2 separate regions of the Homo sapiens genome follow, and region 2 is linked to region 1. The links are contacts of gene promoters, found by promoter capture Hi-C in human tissues and cell types (Jung and others, 2019). All regions are on one chromosome and are shown on one strand. The core of a region is centred on a gene start or on the middle of the fragment in contact, and the rest is flanking DNA. Distances in the headings are between cores, read along the strand shown. Region 1 holds the start of DSCC1 (DNA replication and sister chromatid cohesion 1). Region 2 overlaps COL14A1 (collagen type XIV alpha 1 chain).

What was found. Contacts are between HindIII fragments. The study calls those that stand out against the background at their distance.
Region 2: a contact is called between a fragment that was not itself captured here and the fragment with the promoter of DSCC1 in region 1, in 2 of the 25 tissues and cell types used here (H1 embryonic stem cells and mesendoderm cells).

Annotation. Positions count from the first base shown.
Region 1 is chr8:119,853,919-119,857,618 of GRCh38, forward strand. It overlaps DSCC1 (DNA replication and sister chromatid cohesion 1), which reads right to left and starts at 1,976. Exons shown (of 9, transcript NM_024094.3): 1 at 1,696-1,976. The coding sequence starts at 1,877. It overlaps LOC105375728 (a long non-coding RNA gene), which reads left to right. Exons shown (of 4, transcript XR_928590.3): 2 at 757-884; 3 at 1,488-1,961. RefSeq lists an enhancer at 1,648-1,957 and a silencer at 2,068-2,127. The HindIII fragment of the contact is 8,457 bases long and covers 1-3,700 here.
Region 2 is chr8:120,325,477-120,329,176 of GRCh38, forward strand. All of the region lies in intron 40 of COL14A1 (collagen type XIV alpha 1 chain), which reads left to right. Among named protein-coding and RNA genes, the nearest start is that of MRPL13, 120 kb to the right of the region's middle. The HindIII fragment of the contact is 6,229 bases long and covers 1-3,700 here.

The sequences.
Region 1 (3,700 bases), core at 726-3,225:
TGAAGAAAAGCAAGAACGCAGTGGCTCATGCCTGTAATCCTAGCACTTTAGGAGGCTGAGGCCAGAAGATCGCTCGAGAGCAGGAGTTTGAGACCAGCCTGAGAAACATAGCAAGACCCCATCACTACAAAAGAAAAATTTAAAAGTTAGCTGGGTGTGATGATGCACACCTTAAGTCTCAGCTACTCAGGAGGCTGGTGGGAGGATCGCCTGACCCCAAGTAGTCATGGCACCATCATGCAGAGAGCCGTGATTGTGCCACTGCACTCCAGCCTGGCTGACAGAGTGAGACCCTGTTCCCACCACTCTCTCCCCAAAAAAAAGATAAAGAAAAAAGAAGGAAGAGGAAAGGATGAAGGTGAAGCGGAGGAAAAGGAAGGATTAAAGACAAAGATGATGGCAATGACAGGGGAGTTGGTTCTAGCAGTTTTCCTTGTCTGTAAAGCATTTAATTCTCCTGTGCACAACTCGTTTCTTTTGAATAAATAATAAGAAACCTGAAATAGCAGACTGTGTATTTATTTTTGACTAAGTCTTCATTTAAGTAAAAAGAATAAAAGGTTTTTTAGATTCCTAATGCTAATAATGCTTAATAGGCCCAAGTACCTAGTCTTTAACATTTATTTCTCTAACTGCACTACCCCCACTTTGAAATATTTTGTTTATACCATCACTCCCTACACCCCAAAATTAAAAACACACGTTTCCAGGGCCTGTTTTTATTTTTTTGTTTTTGTTTTGTTTTGTTTTTGCCAGCTAGATTAACTAGAACTGGACCGAGAGAAAGTCCTCACACCTGAGTTCCTTTCTCAACTCTCCACCAACTGAACCGGGATGGAAACAGACTAGTGAAGTTCTTTCAGTTCCCTTAAAGGTACTTTGAGGTATATAGCAGGTATCTGAAGAATGGCCAGTTTACTCTAACACTCTTTGGTGGGCAAAGTACGAAAACTGAAAGACAGCCTAAAGGATTCCATTAAGAAAAAAGAGAAAAAATAGCCTAATAAAATATAGGTGTCGGAGGACCAATTGTGCAAAAGAGAATCAAGCTGGAGCTCCCTATTTTGCAGGAGCTGGGGCTGCACAGGGTGGAGGGATATAACGATTCTCTAGACTTCTCAAGACTGCCTTTAAAAAACTACCTCAACTTCGACTTCTAATCAATGATCTTGCAGCAAGTTTGTATCTGACCTGGAATTAGAAACAGCTTCAGATCCCTACTAAGCAAGTTTGCTTCGGGGTGGGTAGGGGTCTCACCCAATTACCAAGTCTGTAAGCTGATTCCCAGCACTTCCTATCTATCATCTGAGTAAAATAAATATAAGTGGAAGGCAAGAGTTCTATAAACATTGGGTATCACCACTGTATTTTAAGGTAGAGTGACAGGTGTCCTGTAGAGTCCCTGTAATCACCGGTAACTCTTCAAAAACTTCACGGAGGTTGTATTAGTATTTCCTGACTTGCTCCCGCTGACACATGCCTCCAAGGTCAGCTGGACCAGTGCTACTCATCACCGCAGTGCAGCTAACTGGACGGCCCACCGGAGGCGTGGACTCCTCGGGAACAGGCAGCTTGCTATGAGCCCCCGGCCAGGTCAGTGCATCTCTCTGGCCCTGTTTTCTTATCCCGACTTTCCCCGCTGAGAAAATAACGTGGCCGGCCAGAGGCTGGGGGCGCCGCGTGACCAGGGCTCACCTGTGTCCATCCTCCAGCTGCTGGCACAGCGTGGGCTCCAGCTCCAGCAGGCAGAAGTCGCCGGCTGCAGCGCCGCTGGCCCCAGGGCCGAAGCCCAGGCAGTGCACCGCCGGCAGCAGCTCGGCCGCATTCAGCTTGGCGATCTGCAGCGTCGCATCCACCTCGTCGCGGGTCCTCTTCATCGCAGCGCCGGGTCTAGGAGTCCCGCCGCGCCCGGGTGGCTGCGGGCTTGGCGGGCAAGAAAGAAGTTCCCAAGCAGCCGGAAGGTAGGAAACCTGAGCGTTTGAAAGCGCGCCAAGGCGGCCATGGGCGTGTTTCCGGGGCGGAGCGCGCTGCGGGCCCGCCCGCGGGAAGGCCTGCCGGCTTCTGGGAGCGCGAGCCCCTCCGTGCCCCACGCCGGACCGCGACTGCAGGAAGGAAACGCGGCTTCCCGGGGGGCGGTCTCGGCGGAAGCTCGCAGGGGCAGAGCTGCGACTCGGCGGGTTGGGACACGGATCCCTCGCCCACCCTTTCCGCTGTCCCCTTGCCCGCCCCCCATCCCCGATCTCCGTCCCTGGTTTCCAGCCGATGCTCCCATTTCCTCGCCGTCCACATTGTCTCACCTTCCGCCAGTGGCGGGCCCTGTGATAACCACTTGGCATGTATAATTCCATGAGCCCGTTGCCACAACCCTGTAAGGTGGTGCCTTGGTCATTCCCTTTTGCCAATGAGGAAGCAGGCTCCTTGCTCGTGATGGCAGAGTCAGGAGGTAACAGAGTCTGACTCCAGCCTAGCCGACTGTGGCTCTAAAAGCTTCCTGCGGGGTTTTGTGCAAATAACCCATGCTCGGGAGCGAGGCCCTGGGAAGGAGTATCTCGCTTCTTTGGGTCAGGGCACCATCATATCTGGAGACAACGGCGGGACTAGTCTATTCGTTGAATACCTAGTGTTAACCGAAAAGTGACTGATGCAGGTCTCGTTCAATAGAGGTTTATTTAAGCAAGGTTGAGGACGCACCCGAAGGGAAAAACAAGTCACAGGAGCATCTGTGACTTGTACATTTTCCAAAGGTTTGGGGAACTTCAGTATTAAGAGTTTTAAGAGAAAAGGTTTTCACTATGCACACATACATGAATTGCTTGTAACAGCGTAATGTGTAAACTTTCCCAGAGATGCTTAGGGAATCGTTGAGGGCCCTGGCTGTCCCTGAGAGCTAAAATAGTCTGGGAGGAATCACTTAAGAGATGGTGACCTCCTACTAGTTAGTGCAAATCAGACCTTGCTTGAAGTGAAAGAAAGTGGTGGGTAAGGTGTTGAATTCAAAGGATCTGAGCAGACATTTTTTTCAATTCTTGGGTAAAATGATACGAAAATACCAGAGTAGGGCATCCCAGGAGTCTGGGCAGTGCTTTCGTTGGTGGTGGAAAGATTGGTTCATGTGACCTACTTCTTCACTAGCCTCTTTTACATTTGAATGCATAGGAATTCGGTGGAATGAAATCCTGAATGTGACAGTGGTTGCCTGATAAGAAGTTATTATTGAAGGGAATCAACCATTGTAGTTGCTCTATTAAATGGGAAACATTCCCTACAACTAGAAGCAGTGTCAACTAGAACCCTGACATTTACATCAGACAGGCATGGCTGCGAATCCCAACTCTCTTCAGAACTTTGTGACCTAAGGCAATTTACCTAATTTCTCTGAGTACAACTTCCTTATCGATAAAAAAGCACATAAGACCTACATTCTTAAGATGTACATTCTAAAATGCATGGCTGCTTAATAAATGGCAGCAGTTCTTTTTGTTTTTATGTATTAATCATTATGAATTTAATTTCCAATTAATGGTATGAAATTATTGCCATTAATTTGATATTCTGTCAGGGAGCTGGACCTGTGTTCCTCTCATAAGACAAAATGATGATAGTTTTTATTAATTCATTCTTTAAAATTATGTTAATATGTTTTTCTAAAGTAAGAAATTTTCTGTACCTTTTCAAAAAACGATTGAAGCTGGCTTAATCA
Region 2 (3,700 bases), core at 372-2,871, 470 kb after region 1:
GTTTGTTTGTTTGTTTGTTTGTTTGTTTGTTTTTGAGACAGAGTCTCACTCTGTTGCCCAGGCTGGAGTGCAGTGGTGCGATCTTGGCTCACTACAACCTCCACCTCCTGGGTTCAAGCGATTCTCCTGCCTCAGCCACTTGAGTATCTGGGCTTACAGGCGTAACGTACCGCACCCAGCTAGTTTTTGTATTTTTAGTAGAGATGGGGTTTCGCCATGTTGTTCAGGCTGGTCCGGAACCCCCGACCTCCAGTGATCCACCCTCCTTGGCCTCCCAAAGTGCTAGGATTACAGCCATGAGCCACTGCACCTGGCCACATGTTCTGCTTTATATGAGGATGCTTAATCTCTAAACACACATCTTAGATTAGCTCCTTGGTGTAAAATGGAAAATTTATAGATATAGAAAGGTTTTGGGACGTGCAAGTACTTTTTTAGCTGTTAATAGTTGAAGACCATTCAATGAGCTTTGATTATAGTTAAGCTGAATGACAAAGCTAGAATTTGCCCATTAATTTACCCTACAAAATGCAGTTATTTTACAAAATTTTTCCTTTCACCAAGTTTATTGCTTTCTGTAAAAAGCTTCTGCTACTGCTGCTCACCCTGAAATGAAGATGTGAGAAGAAGGGCCTGAACCCTGCCCTTTGAAGAGTTGACTGGCTTGCCCAGTGAGAGCTGTAACATGCAGTGGTGTGTGAATAGGGAGACTCATGCCATGGACCCAACCATTCTGATTACTTGACTTAAATTCCACCTCTTCTGTGAAAATGTCTCTGTGTCCCCAAGCCTGGGTTAGGTGCTCTTCCTAGATGTACCCGTTGGAACTCTATAGTCTCTCAGCATAGCACACTGTTGGTTTCTTTTCATTGTTTGACTATCCTCAAAACTGTAAACTCTTAGAAGAGTGACTGTCTTGTTCATCATTGTCTACCTAGAGCCTAGCAGAATCCCCAGCATGTAGTACCTGTACAGGTATTTCTGGGTAATATGACAAATGCAAGACTTGCAAATAAAAAATCTTTCAAAGGCAAATTTACTGGTGTCATTTAAGAGTTTAAAAATAAAACTATTTTATGAGATGGAAAATGTGAAGATCTTTAATTTTCTAGGGTTATGAAGAAATTTTAGAAAAAATGGCTTTGTGTTTTTGAAATGGTGTTAAGGCTAATATCCTTTTAGTTATCACAATTTATAATAAGAAAATTTTCATTTGAGATAAAGCAAGCAGATAACTCACAGTAGACTTAAAAACGCCTTTGTTCTTGGTTGGGTGCAGTGGTTCATGCCCGTAATCCCAGCACTTTGGGAGGCTGAGGCAGGTGGATTACTTGAGTTCGGGAGTTTGAGACCAGCCTGGCCAACATGGCGAAATCCTGTCTCTACAAAAAATACAAAAATTAGCCGGGTGTGGTGGTGCATGTCTGTAATCCCAGCTACTCAGGAGGCTGAGGCAGGAGAATTTTTTGAGCCTGGGAGGCGGAGGTTGCCATGAGCCGAGATTGTGCCACTGTACTCCAGCCTGAGCGACAGAGTGAGTGAGACTCTAACTCAAAAAACAGAAACAAAAACAAAAACCCACCTTTGTTCTTGAACAAATTTGTTATTTGTTCTTGAACCATTATCTCTAAAAGTGTTTAGTTGTTTATGACAGTCCATGAAAAAAGTGCCAGAATAAAATGCATTGTAGTGGATGCTGTTGGTGCCCTGATTGGACCCCCTTTACTTGGCAGGTGAACTACATCACCAGCTGCTATGGTGCTGACTGCTAACCACTCATAATTGTCCCCTTCTCCAGATAATTGCCCTTGGAAATGTTATCTTGGCCCTCAGTCAACGACTAACTGATTTGGTTCATAGACTCTTATGTGAGTCAACTCTGACGTGTAATTCACACTCCAGAGCTCCCCATGGGATCAGGCAGAAGTTTAGATAACTCACTACTCTACCTAACCTCTTCCCTGTCCCTACCCTGCTTCCTTCACTGCCTTACAGGTTTCTTCCAAGAACCCTCCTGCAATAAGTCAAATACACAAGGATCTGGGTCTGCTTCTAGGATCCTAACCTTAAGCTTTTACTAAAATGAAATTTCAGCTTCTGAGAGTAGGATGACTCCTGATGTCTTTTCGACTTGCTTGCAGAGGGTTCAAGAGCAAGGAGAATGACACCAGCATTCCCCTCACCCTATACATTTCCAGACTCATTCTACCTGTGATTCACGCTTATTTCTTCGATGTGATAAGTAGAGCAGGAACCTCAATCTTATTCAAATTAAGTATTTATTAGTGCAATACTTTTTTTTTTTTTTGAGATGGAGTCTTGCTTTGTCACCCACTGGAGTGCAGTGGTGCAATCTTGGCTCACTGCAACCTCCACCTCCCAGGTTCAAGTGATTCTCATGCCTCAGCCTCCCAAGTAGCTGGGATTACAGGCATGAGCCACCACGCCTGGCTAAGTTTTGTATTTTAGTAGAGACAGGGTTTCACCATGTTGGCCAGGCTGGTCTCGAACTCCTGACCTCAGGTCATCTGCCCGCCTCGGCCTCCCAAAGTGCTGAGATTACAGGCATGAGCCACTGCACCTGGCCATGTGCAGTACCTATTTTGTGTCAGTAATGTGTTAAGAAAGTTTTAGGAATATAGCGATGAATAAAACATAATTTTCTGCCCTCGAAAGAAGAAGAGAAAGAAGAAATTCCAACTTTTGAGGATATTGTTTAGGTAGAATTTAAAGCAAACAAACATCTTATCCAGTCTCTGCTTTATTTGTTTTTTTGAGACAGGGTCTCACTCTATCACCCAGACTGGAGTGCAGTGGTGTGATCACAGCTCACTGAAGTTTCAACCTTCCGGGCTCAAGCAATCCTCCAGAGTAGCTGGGACTACAGGCACAAGCCACCAGGCAGAGCAATTTTTTTTTAATTTTTTTTTTTTTGGTAGAGATAGGGGTGTCTTTATGTTGCCCAGGCTAGTCTTGAACTCCTGGGCTCAAGCGATCCTTTTGCCTCAGCCTCCCAACATGCTGGGATTACAGGCATGAGCCACCACACCCAGCTGCAGCCTCCACTTTTGATTTGATCACACTGAAGCACTAGCCCTTTCACCAAATTAAGCTCATATGTAGGAGCAACATGTCATCCTTCCAGATGATATGCACATGATGTCCATAAATCAAGTGAATTCAAACCTCTTCACAAGAGTATCCTTCCAGGGTCATAGATGAGAGCACTGACAGACTTGTTTTTTAAACTCCTTCTCACATGATTGGGAGAGGGGATAAATGTGTTATTTCCTGCTGTTCTTCCTTGGAACAATGCAATTTTCTGCAGTTTCTTTTCTGCAGCTTGCCTCCTTCTGTGAAAAAGATTCCCCTCACTTGTTTTTGGAATGTTTCCCCTCTGGACACAGCCGAGCAGAGACTTGGGGAGAACTCCGCAGTAATGCTGCAGTTTTGGTTGCTGGGCAGTTGTGTTGGCCACGGGTCCTCTGTGGGCTCACGCATAGGTGCATGTTCACTCCCTATCCAGTGCTGGAAGAGTTTTAAAGCAGGAAGCAAAAGATGCCTTTTTGGAAATGTCTTCTTAAGTTAGTGAATATGTGCCCAGGGTCCATTTTTCTAAGAACTTCATCTGAGAAATAAGAATATATTATTATAAACTTATAAACTTATTTTAAAAAATGAGTTAGGTTTTCTTTCAACT